Regions from separate parts of the Homo sapiens genome. Here all the other regions are linked to region 4. Evidence: promoter capture Hi-C in 16 types of primary human blood cells and fetal thymus (Javierre and others, 2016). All regions are on one chromosome and are shown on one strand. The core of a region is centred on a gene start or on the middle of the fragment in contact, and the rest is flanking DNA. Distances in the headings are between cores, read along the strand shown. Region 1 holds the start of RPS19 (ribosomal protein S19). Region 2 holds the start of ERF (ETS2 repressor factor). Region 3 holds the start of ARHGEF1 (Rho guanine nucleotide exchange factor 1). Region 4 holds the start of PAF1 (PAF1 component of Paf1/RNA polymerase II complex).

Region 1 (2,700 bases), core at 16-2,515, 2.5 Mb before region 4:
AGGGAGTCTGCCTCCGTGTATATAGAAAGGATTAAACCACCTGTAAGCAAAATATGAACATTCATCTGTCTCTGGTTTCCCCTGAGGCTCAAAGCCACAGGTCCTCCTCTCACAAAGCTCTTAGAATGTCATAAAAACTTGGAGTACCAAGTTATCGAATGTCACATCACACAAAGCAAGTGGTGACACAACCAAGGGTTTCTCTCCCTCTTGGGGCGGGAAAGAGCTCAGAGGAGACAGGGAAGTATGGTTTGTGCCAGGGGTCACCCAGCTCCCCACTCTCCAGCCAAAGACCTAAGTTCCTCACCAGCTCGCGTGTAGAACCAGTTCTCATCGTAGGGAGCAAGCTCTTTGTGCTTGGCCAGCTTGACGGTATCCACCCATTCGGGGACTTTCAGCTTCCCGGACCTAAGACCAAAACAGTGGGAAAAGCACGATTCAGTCATCTCCACAAACTACCCCATATCCCAAATGCCCTCCCCTCAACACAACTATGCTGTGCCCAGAGTACAAAGAGAGGCTGGAACCGGAACACAAGCCAGGCCTCACGCTGAAAGGAGCCACGGAGGCCCCAAACAAGCCTCGCCTGCCAGGGACCGGCAAACACTGGGGCTCAGATGGGCAGGCCAAGGCGACAGCCTCCACCCGTTTTGAACCTCAGTCCCCAAACTCACTTTTTGAGGAAGGCTGCCAGAGCTCTGACGAACTCCTGCTGGTTCACGTCTTTTACAGTAACTCCAGGCATCTGAGGGAGAAAGTCAAGCATGTGAACACAGGCCTGGCAGAGACGACTGCCAAGAGCACGGACCCCACCCCAATCCTTTCGCTCCAGCGCATCCTAAACCGTGGTACCCCCCGTTACTTCCCACGGCCCCTTCAACGCCGGGCTCCGGCTCCTGCGGGTCTGAAGGAGCTCACCGACGCCCACGGCCTCTCTGGATCGCACTAACAGAGCCCGGCCCCTGCGTGTGAGGATCCTGCGCGACCCCACTCCCCAGCCCCGGGACTCCGGACGCCCCACGCACCCCGCCGCTGCCCCCCGGGGCCCACGCTCGGTTCCCGGACGGCGCTGACCGGGCATGTCCGGGCCTGCCGCTCGCACGTGGCCGCGGCTCTAGGGGGCGGGACGGGCCCGCGCCGGGCGCCTCGGGGCCCTCAGGCACGCGCTCTGAGGCTTCGGCGTCCGGCCCTGCCGCCTCGCGCCCGGTCCAGCTCGGAGCCCCCGCTTACCGTGCGGCCTCCGCGCTGCCAGCCAGGGGAAAGGGAACGACGGGGTTTCCCGGGCGCACAAGTCGGGCGTAGGGTCTCGCGAGAGTTCCGAAAGCTCGCGAGAGCGAGGGTAGACGCTGAGGCTCCGCCTCTCTCAGGGCGAAAGTTCGTCCCCGCCTAGAGGGGAGGGTGTCTAGTGAGGGGTGGAGAGGTAAAGGGGAGGGCCAAGGGGTCGCGCGTGGAGGCCTGGGTTTCCTCCCGCGTTTCCTTCTCCCGGAGTGTAATAGAGAGAGGATAGAGAGCTCCTGTTCGGAGCTGGGGGAACTTGGCTTCGTTTGCGTCGTTCGTGGCTGGAAGGAACAGTGGTGGAGAATACTATGATGGCGAAAGTACGGGGCAGGATGGGTGGGCCACAGCTGGCGCCCCACGGCGGAACAACCCCTTTTCCGGGTGGAAGTGGCTGTTCCCTGGCCGGAAGTGGGAGTAGTAAGGGCGGAACTGTGACAGGGAACCTAGGGGAAGGGCGAGGAAGAAATGTGGCTATCATCTTCCGTCCTTCACCGCCAGGAGTCGCGAGAGCGGGAGACGGAAGCCCCACCCTTCTCAGGGCGGAAGTTGCTTCAGCACGGCCGGGGCGAGCGAAAAGGGAATGAGGCGCTGGAGGAGGGGAGAAGATAAGGGCGGGACAAAGCGGCAGAGGCGGGACCTTAGCAGAAGTTAGTTCAGCTCTGCCTTCTAGTGTCGGAGTCTGTTCGCTCAGCCCTTACTTTGCCAATTTAGATTTACCTGCCCCGCTGACCTGTGTAGCTTTAGGCAGTCCATTTGCCTTCTCAGGGCTTGTCTCACCATTAAAAAAAAAAAAAAAAAATGAGATCCCCGTTTGTCCATTTAAAGTGGCTCCTCTGGTTCATGGCGCGTCACATGCTCTAAAAAATATTTTTTGAGTGCCTGCTCTGTGCCAGGCACAGGTAAATATTATTTGGACATTTATCATGTGGCTGTTACTGTAGTGTTACATGCATGATCTCATTTAATCCTTACAAGGCCCAACAACTAAATAACGTGGTCCAATAAAATTATGTTAACTTGTTGCAAAAAGGAAACACTGAAATGTGTGTAGCTATTTTCTTATGTTGGAAAGACTGAGAATTTAAAACATAAGAGCAAATATTAGAATTTTACCCCACACTGATACTGTGGCTGCAAAATGTGTTAATTATTAATAAGCCAAGACTCGTATCTGTTAGAAAAATTAAAACCAACCATGCTTCTAGCATAAGATCATATATTTAAATCAAGGTTTTACATTCATGTAGAATGTTGTTGAAACCTATCTCATACTGTTTCTAAAACTTGAGAAAATATTTTCATTATCTCAATTGTTTTTCCAGAACCAACACATACATATTTCCATATGTATTCAAAGTGGGTAATATATGCATGTCTAACTGGAAATCTCCAGGTACTTGGGTAATTTATATTCACTTTTTA
Region 2 (2,700 bases), core at 10-2,509, 2.9 Mb before region 4:
CTAGGTACCCCGCAAGCGAGGAGGCTGGGATTGAAGCCCTGGGTACCGGGAGCCTGAGCTCCGCAGGCCTTCCCTATCTGTGACTTTTCTGTCTCCCCGCCCATCTTCTGGATTCGTCCCCCACCCAGCCCCCCCAACTCCCGCCCGCCACCCATACGCCCCTCCTTCGGAACCTCAGAGTCTTTTTTGAGACTCTGTTTCCAGGCTATGCCTGTGAATATTGCTTCTATTTGGCCTCTACCCTGCTGCCGGCTCCTGGGCTCCATCAGATCTGCGCTGTGATTTCCTGTTTCCCAGAGCCTCAGGCTTCATCCTTCCCTCCCGGCTGAGGCAGAGAACGGAGACTTAACACTTCTCTACGCTCTGGCTTTCGATCTTAAGCCCTGTCTTCCTCTCTCCTGGCGACCCTCAGTGCCCCTTGGGAGCACATTTGTTCAGACTTTGGTCGCCCCCTCGTATCCCGGCCCCGCCTCCGGAACCCCCGGTCCTAGTAGTGGACGTGGGGGGACCTCCGGCGCCAGCCCTATCCCCGGGACAGCTGCAGCCTGGGGACGGTGGTGGTGGGGGCTTCCAAATGCATTCTCTCTGGTCACTTCCTCCCCAGCTGGACGGGGGTTATCAGGGAAGCCAAGACCCCATCCCCACAGGAGCGGAGGGCACAGCCGCCTCCCCATTTCCGATGCTGGGAAATGCATCCCACCCATTCCACCCCACCCCTGGACAGCTGCCCCCATTCAGGCTCAGGGTTGGGGGGTTGGGTAAAACCAAGCTGGGAAATGCTGTGGTCTTCATCATCTTCTAAGGTCCTGACCCCGCCCCTCTGCAGAGAAGATTCTGCCCCCTCCCCACAAAAGTTTCTGACCCCCGCTTCCTCGGAAGGGCCCCCCGTTTTCCCATACAGGCTCCCAAAAGAAACTCTGGAGCCCGCAGTGGGCAGGAGAGGAGGAGGGGCAGCAGGTAGCGAGTGCCGAAGACTTAAGTTAGCTGCAGACTCGGAGCCTCTGACTAGGGTCATGACCCGCGGGACCCCATCCCACCCCCACCCCCTCCTTCCTCCCTCCCCCGCCGCGCGGCCCCTTTAAGCCCAGAGCCGGCCGGTCCTCAGTGGCTGCGCGCCGACGAGCGTGTGTGTGAGTGCGCGGGGAGGGGGCGGGCGCAGTGTCTCCATGGCGACGCGGCGGTGACGTCGCCGGCCGGGGGGCGTGGGCGTCCCGGCCCCGGAGTGCGATATTAACCCGGGAGGCGGCGGCGGGGAGGGGAGAGGCTCTGAGAGGCGAGGCCGGGTGAGGCGGCGAGGGCGGCCCGACGGGCGCGGGACGGGACGGGGCAGCGAGGGCGCCGGGAGCCGCGGCCCGGAATCGGGGCGCTTCGCCCCGGGCCCCCCAGCATGAAGACCCCGGCGGACACAGGTGGGGGCGGGGGCAGCACGTGTGGGGGAGACTTGTTGCCCCGGGAAACCGAACGGAGAAACTTTGGGGGGGCTGAAGGGGTCCGGGGGAGCCCGAGTGATCCCCAGTTCTGGGGGACCCCTCAAGCACTGGAGACCTGTTGCTTCTCGTGGCGCGAGCGGGGTTGCTGCCTGGGACCCCCGATTCCTGGCTCCGGGCGGAGTGGTGTGGGTGCTGCGGGTCTTGGTCCTGTATCCCTACCGGGACCCCGCAGGCCGGGCTCTCCCCCACTCCCGGGATCACGGGGGTGGCGGGGTCCTTCCCCTCCGCTCTTGTCACGTTGCACTCTGGGGGCCGGGACGTGTGCGGGGCGGGGGGGCTCGTCCACCGGGCCCGCTATCCCTGGTTCTGCGCTGCGCGGTCCTGCTGGTGACCTTCACGGCGGCGCGTGCCCTGCACCAGGTTAGCGGGGGATACGGGATGGCCTCTAGGAGGAGGGCGTGAGTGGGGAGCCCGGGACTCGGGGTCCTGGCTGCGCCGCCCCTCCCCCGCCCGCCTCTGTCGGCTCCTCGCTCCCCCGCCCTCGCCGAGTCGCAAAGTTCCAAAGCGCAGCCCGAACGTTCGAAAAAGGAACTTTTTGTTTCCGACCTTAGAACGCGCGGCTTTAAGGTGGCTCCGGGGAGACCTGGGTACCCTCCTCCCGCGCCACCGGTGGCCCGGGGTTGAGGAGGGTGGGGAAGGTGGGGGGAGACGCAGAGGCTCCCCCCTCGCCCCCCCTCCCGGATCCACCTCTTCTCTTTCAGCGGGCCGTCTCTTCCCTCCGCCCCTCTCTTCCCCGCCAACTTGCTCCTCCTTAAGGGGCCAAGGTTCCCCTCCCCCTCGGTCGGCGGGCGGGGGGCAGCGGGATTAACTCCCCCTCCCACTCGGACTTTTCCCCCTCCCCTCCCCCGCCGCCCCCGGGCTCGCGCGGGCTGGACTTTGCGCCCGAGCGCGCAGGGGGAGGGGTCCCAGCCGCCCCCTGCCCGTCTACCCCGTCGGAATCCGGCCCGGGGCGGGGACGGGGGAGGGGGAAGGGGGCCGGGCGCCGCTGTTCAAACTTGTTTCCTTCCCCCGGCGGCGGCGGCGGCGGCGGCGGCGGCTCGGGCTCCTGTGTGCGGGTGTGTGCCCCGACCGGCCCACCCACCCCACCCCATCCCCACCCCATTCCCACCCCATTCCCATCCCCATCCCCCTGCTCGGCGGGTGGGGGCGGCTTAATCTTAAAGGGCTCCGAGCTGGGATCCGGCGCCAGGGGATTGGGACCCGGACCGAG
Region 3 (2,700 bases), core at 201-2,700, 2.5 Mb before region 4:
GACCCAAATCTTACATGGACGTGGCGGGTCTTACGCGGGCCCTAAATCCTACGGGGGACGTGGCAGTGTGCACGGCCAGGGATGCCGGGGAGGACGTGCAGAGTCAGGGTCTGACACCCGCTGGGGACCGCGTCCCTCACCTGCTCCAGGTGGAAAGAGAAGCCATCGCCGCCACCGGAACCGAAGCCTCCGCGCTCGGGCTCCGCACTCTCCCCACCCCTGCCGCCGCGTCGCTCTAGCCGCCCTGAGTCCACCTTTGCGCCCAGCTCCACTCCTCCTGCCAGCCGCTCTAGCCCGGCTCCTGCCGGGCTCCGGCCCCGACGACTCTACTCCTCCCGCCGGCCGCTCTAGCGCTGTACTGCGCCACGCAGGCCAGATAGGGCCGCTCTGGCCTGTCTTGGAGGGCCAGCGTTTCCGTATCTCGACTGCCCCCGTCACTCCCCGGGCCCCGCCCCGCGCCCGGAGGTGCAGATGGGTCCAACTCCTCCCGAGTTCGATCGGAGATCTCCTAGTCACCCCAGCGCTGAGCACTCGGACGGCGGACTGGGGCTCCCCGTCCTATTAGTCTCCCCACTTAGGGGACCCGCTGAATTTCCAATCCTCGTACATCAATCCCCTCCGTCTCCCACCCCCAGCCCCTTCCTTTGGAACCGGAAAAGCAATAGTCTTGAGTTCCAGCACAACTTTCCCTCTGACATGCAGTGTAATCTGCAAAAAGTAATGACTTCTCTGTAGACCTCAGTCTTCCCATCCGTACAATGGGAGAAGGCCTCCAGCTCTCTCCCTACACCTGTCTCTCACGGTATAATTAATGACCTAGAAAAGAGCTTTCCGAAAACTCTTTCAAATGCACTCTGCAACTTTCAGCTTCACAGCGACCCTCGTCGTTGTTGTTATTGTTGTTTTTCATTTTTAGGTGGCCCTAAAGCATGCGGGGGTTGGAGGATGGCGCTTTGCGGAAAGCACGTGCGAGTTCAAATCCCAACTCCACACTTTCTCACGATGTGCGTTCCCTGGGACGAGTCGGTTTGGCTCCCCGGGCCTCGGTTTCCCCACCCGTACAATGGTAGTGATCGTCCGTTCTCCACTGAGCAGGTGGGAGGCCTTGGCCCCGGCCTCGCACCGTTCGTCCCCACCTATGGGGCACTCGTCAAGTGTGAGTTCTCCCCTCTTTGCTCCCTTTGACAGATGGGAAAACTGAGGCCCAAGGAGGGGCGGCCGCTGGTTCCGTGGGGTCCGAAGGGGGCCCCTCCGCTGCCGGCAGCGCCCCAGCCCCTCCCTCCTCCTCCCCACTTCCCCCAACAGCCGAGGGGAGGAGGCCGGGCGGGGCCGGGGACCGAGTACCTGGTGTCCGCGCGGAGGTGACCGGCGGGGCGCCCGAGGTCGGGCTCGGCGATCCCGGGCCCTGGGTCCCGGCTCCCGCTTCCTGGCTCTGGCGGGGCAGGAAGTCGGGGCGTTTTTCCGGAGGCCCCCGCCCCGCCGCCCCTCCCCGCTTCCTGCCCGCGCCCCGCGCCCGCCCGGCACCTCCGCTTCCTTCCCCTTCTCGCCGCTTGCCCGCCCCTCCTTTCCCCGCTGCGCCCGGGTCCCTGCGGGCACCGGCCCCCGCCCCGGCCGCGCCCGAGCTCTCCCCGGCTTTGTCCATCGGTCCGTCCGCCGGGCGCGGGCTCCGCGGGACTCGCATCTCCCGGCTGGGGTCACCTCCCCGGAGGTGCTGGGGGGCAAGCCCTGCTCCCCGTGCGCCCTAGACCGAGCCACGACCTCCCCGGCTTTCCGCGTCTGTGGTTCTCATGGTCTTGCGCCCTTCCTTCGCCTCTGTGGGTGTGCTCCCGCCTGCGTCTGCATCCCCTTCTCTGTCCCTCTGTCTTTCTCTACTGGGGTCTTTCCCTCCTTGGCCTCCACCTCTCCTCTCTGTCCCTCCATCACTTTCTCCCCGAAAGCCCTTCTCTACCCTCTCCAGCTCTCTCTGTATCTTTCTGCATCTCCGTCTCAGTCTCTGTCATTTCCCCAGCTGTTGCTGTGCCTGGGCCTCTTCGTGCCCATTTTCGGTTGCCCCTTCTCCCTTCTGTCTCTTCCTTTCCTTCTCGCTCTCTCTCTGTCCCTTTCTCTCCACGTCCCTGTCTCTCTCCCGGATTCCCAGGGTCTCATCATCTCTTCCTTCCCTTGCTCGTCCCCTTCATGATCCCTGGGTCTCAGCCTCTCTCCTCTCCCTTTCTCAGGAAATCCGTGTCTCTGTGCCTCTCTGTCATTGCCCCGGGATCTCCCTGCTATCCCCAGGTTAGGACCACAGACCCTCCAAAATGCCCCTTCTGTAAGTCAACGCATCGGGAAAAGGCTGCAGTCTGAATTCTGTACTAGCCCCAATCCACAAGATAGTCCCTGTGTTTCCAAGGCTTAAATACGCATAAAGTGGCTCATGCCTGTAATCCCAGCACTTTGGGAGGCCGAAGCATGGTGGATCACTTGAGGTCAGGAGTTCGAGACCAGCCCGGCCAACATGGCGAAACCCTGTCTCTACTAAAACAAAAATTAGCTGGGTGTGGTAGCACATGCCTGTCATCCCAGCTACTCGGGAGCCTGAGGTACAAGAATCGCTTGAGGTGGAGGTTGAAGTGGGCTGAGATTGCGCCACTGCACTCCAGCCTGGGCGACAGAGTCAGACTCTGCCTCAAAAAAAAAAAAAAAAAAAAAAAAAGCGGCCGG
Region 4 (2,700 bases), core at 185-2,684:
AAGGGGGCTGCACTCACTGTCCATTGTCGATGTTAGTGTTCTGAATCAAGTTTTGGGCCGCAACCTTCATCAAGGTCTAGTCAAAACAAAAACAAAACACGTGGGAAATGGAAAAACAAAAGGGAATACCTCTGGCAGATCTACACTCTTTCTTGAGATCACTCAGTCTCAGGTTTTCTTTTCAACTGGCACCTTCCCTCCTGACTTTCCAAAGTAATATTCGTTTCCATTCCTATAGCTGTCACCACTCCATCCTCCCAGAGGCCCGCTCTCACCTGAGCTTCTCGCCAATAACCTAAGGGTCCTCCCTCACCTATCAATCAAGGGCAGAATCTCCGTATAAGCCAGTACTCTCCTCAGGCTTTAACGACCAGAGCCCAGTTTCTCCTTTAAACAACCCCTCACTCAAGCTCCGGCCAGTCCCAGCCTCAGCATCAGCGCTGATCCCATCTCTGCCGAGCTTCGCTTAGGTCTCGCAGAAAACAACAGTTTTATTTATTTATTTATTTATTTTTTTGACGGAGTCTCGCTCTGTTGCCCAGGCTGGAGTGCAATGGCACGATGTCGGCTCACTGCAACCTCCGCCTCCTGGGTTCAAGCGATTCTCCTGCCTCAGCTTCCCGAGTAGCTGTAATTACAGGCGCGCGCCACCATGCCCGGCTAATTTTTGTATTTTTAGTAGAGACGAGGTTTCACCAGGCTGGTCTTGAACTCCTGACCTCAAGTGATCCGCCCGCCTCGGCCTCCCAAAGTGCTGGGAACACAGGCGTGCACCAGCCAGGCCAAAACAGCAGGTTCTATTCCTCTTTCTGCTTAGCGCTCTCTCCGACTAACCTGGCCCTCGGCCTGCCCCTCTAGACTACCAAATCCAGTTTGCTTCTCGCTGCTTAAGGCCAATCACCTGTAGACTCTCCTTCAGCTGCGGGATGAGCATCTTATAACGCTGCACAGGATCGAAGTCCTGTTGCTGTTGCTGCAGGAGGCCGCTCTGGGCAGGGCCCACCAGTTGTGCTGGCGGTTGCGGCTGCTGCTGGGGACCCGGGCCGCCAGCCGAACTAGGACCCGATACACCAGCAGCTGAGGAAGCCGCTGAAGCTTGCTGCTGGGATGCAGCCATCTTCCTCGCGTAGACCGCCGGAAGTGCGTTACGACTGCGTCTCTCCCCGTTGCTTTTCAGCATCCCTATTTCTAGTCCCCGTTTGCTAGTTAGTCCCGCCCCCTAGGCAATTAAGCCAATGGAGGGGAAGGAGGTGCCCCAACGTTACGTCACTCTCAAATCTGCGTCCAGACTGAGATATCTCTCCACCAATCACAGAAGCACCTCTCTCCCTCGCTCCGCCCTTCACCCAGACGCTCGCCAATCCGTGTGTGGTTCCGAGCCGGACTTCATTTCCCCGAAGGCGTCGCGGCCTGAGGAGACCCGTTGGGTCCTCAGCGTCTTGGCGGCAGTTGGTGGAACCGGAGCTTCGAGTCCGTCCCCGGTGCTGCCTGCGCGTTCACCTGAGTCTCGCTGGAGCTCTTCTCGCCCGCCCACCTCATCTCAACCCACTTTCCGCGGGGAGCGGCGCCAAGCTGGGCCTTCCTCGGATCAGGCGTCCCCTGAAGTCGGCACGCCCCTCTGCGTCCCCCTTCGGTCCCGCTAGGACCCCGTCCGGGCTGCCGTCGCCTCGTCGCTATGGCGCCCACCATCCAGACCCAGGCCCAGCGGGAGGATGGCCACAGGTAGGCGCCACGCTTTTCTGTTGCAGCAAGGCGGGGGATCGGGAGAGGGTTTCTGCTGAACAACGTCACCAGCCCCCAGGTCTGCCCGTGACGTCATGAAGCGCTCACCTTTGACGAAGGGGGCGGGTTCCTTCTGAGATTCAGGTGTTCCCCTCCTCCCCGCCGTGCAGTTCAGGGATTAGGCTTTTGGAGACTCCCTCCAGAAGGGATCCCTCCAGTCAACCGTTTGGAGACCCCTCTTCCGAAGACGATTGAGTACATGGTTCTTTATTAAAGCACTTGAAGCCATCTCCTGCAAAAGGGATTGAGCACTTGGCCTTGTTCATTAAAGCTTTTGGGGGCATTTCTTCCTAAATAAATTGAACATTTGTCTCCTTCCATTAAAGCATTTGGACACTCCCCACACCACCACCCAAAGAAACCAGCATTTGTCACCCCTCCTACCTTTTGAAAGGTTGGGGAAGCCTTTTTCATTCTCCTGTCAATCCCGTCCTCTCCACCTATCACTGTTTCTTTCTTCTCCACTAGGCCCAATTCCCACCGGACTCTGCCTGAGAGGTGAGCCCCACTGTGCTTTCCCAGGAGCGGTGGGGCAGTGGGGCTGGGAGCAGAGGTGGGGCAGCGGGGGCCCACTTTTGAGCCACTAATGTTCCTAGGTCTGGAGTGGTCTGCCGAGTCAAGTACTGCAATAGCCTCCCTGATATCCCCTTCGACCCCAAGTTCATCACCTACCCCTTCGACCAGAACAGGTGAGACTAAGGAATGGGAAAACTACTCAGGTATGAGTTCCTTGAAGGCAGGGACTGCTTGTCTCGTTGGCTGCTGTCTGCTCAGGGCCTAGCACAGTACCTACCCTAGCACATAGTAGTAGCTGCTCAATTGTTAATGGAGCAAGCAGTGTCCAAGTCCCTTCCCACTGGGGAGCCAGCTTTCAGACTCTGCCATGGGGGACACTTCATTCTGAGTTCCTCCCCAGAG

The links. The method cuts DNA at HindIII sites, captures the fragments that hold promoters and counts their contacts. A CHiCAGO score of 5 or more calls a contact.
Region 1: the fragment with the promoter of RPS19 here is called in contact with the fragment with the promoter of PAF1 in region 4 in 6 of 17 cell types (total B cells, fetal thymus, total CD4 T cells and 3 more); the score reaches 8.7 in total B cells.
Region 2: the fragment with the promoter of ERF here is called in contact with the fragment with the promoter of PAF1 in region 4 in 2 of 17 cell types (activated CD4 T cells and fetal thymus); the score reaches 11.0 in activated CD4 T cells.
Region 3: a contact is called between the fragment with the promoter of ARHGEF1 here and the fragment with the promoter of PAF1 in region 4, in 6 of 17 cell types (total B cells, fetal thymus, total CD8 T cells and 3 more). The highest score is 11.6, in total B cells.

The regions. Positions count from the first base shown.
Region 1 is chr19:41,858,820-41,861,519 of GRCh38, reverse strand. RPS19 (ribosomal protein S19) reads right to left here and starts at 1,265. Exons shown (of 6, transcript NM_001022.4): 1 at 1,231-1,265; 2 at 675-745; 3 at 308-408. The coding sequence starts at 745. RefSeq lists silencers at 944-1,063, 1,124-1,253 and an enhancer at 807-1,562. The HindIII fragment of the contact is 18,374 bases long and covers 1-2,700 here.
Region 2 is chr19:42,253,687-42,256,386 of GRCh38, reverse strand. ERF (ETS2 repressor factor) reads left to right here and starts at 1,259. Exons shown (of 4, transcript NM_006494.4): 1 at 1,259-1,409. The coding sequence starts at 1,388. RefSeq lists enhancers at 31-562, 1,203-1,702 and silencers at 1,058-1,457, 1,468-2,157, 2,238-2,307, 2,398-2,517, 2,538-2,587 and 1 more. The HindIII fragment of the contact is 3,576 bases long and covers 1-2,700 here.
Region 3 is chr19:41,881,934-41,884,633 of GRCh38, reverse strand. It overlaps ARHGEF1 (Rho guanine nucleotide exchange factor 1), which reads right to left and starts at 1,450. Exons shown (of 29, transcript NM_004706.4): 1 at 1,345-1,450. RefSeq lists an enhancer at 166-375 and silencers at 242-391, 1,256-1,765. The HindIII fragment of the contact is 8,882 bases long and covers 1-2,700 here.
Region 4 is chr19:39,389,840-39,392,539 of GRCh38, reverse strand. PAF1 (PAF1 component of Paf1/RNA polymerase II complex) reads left to right here and starts at 1,434. Exons shown (of 14, transcript NM_019088.4): 1 at 1,434-1,722; 2 at 2,251-2,280; 3 at 2,379-2,471. The coding sequence starts at 1,676. It overlaps MED29 (mediator complex subunit 29), which reads right to left and starts at 1,162. Exons shown (of 4, transcript NM_017592.4): 1 at 902-1,162; 2 at 18-76. The coding sequence starts at 1,117. It also overlaps a transcript of SAMD4B not described here. RefSeq lists an enhancer at 818-1,107 and a silencer at 2,645-2,700. The HindIII fragment of the contact is 958 bases long and covers 1,098-2,055 here.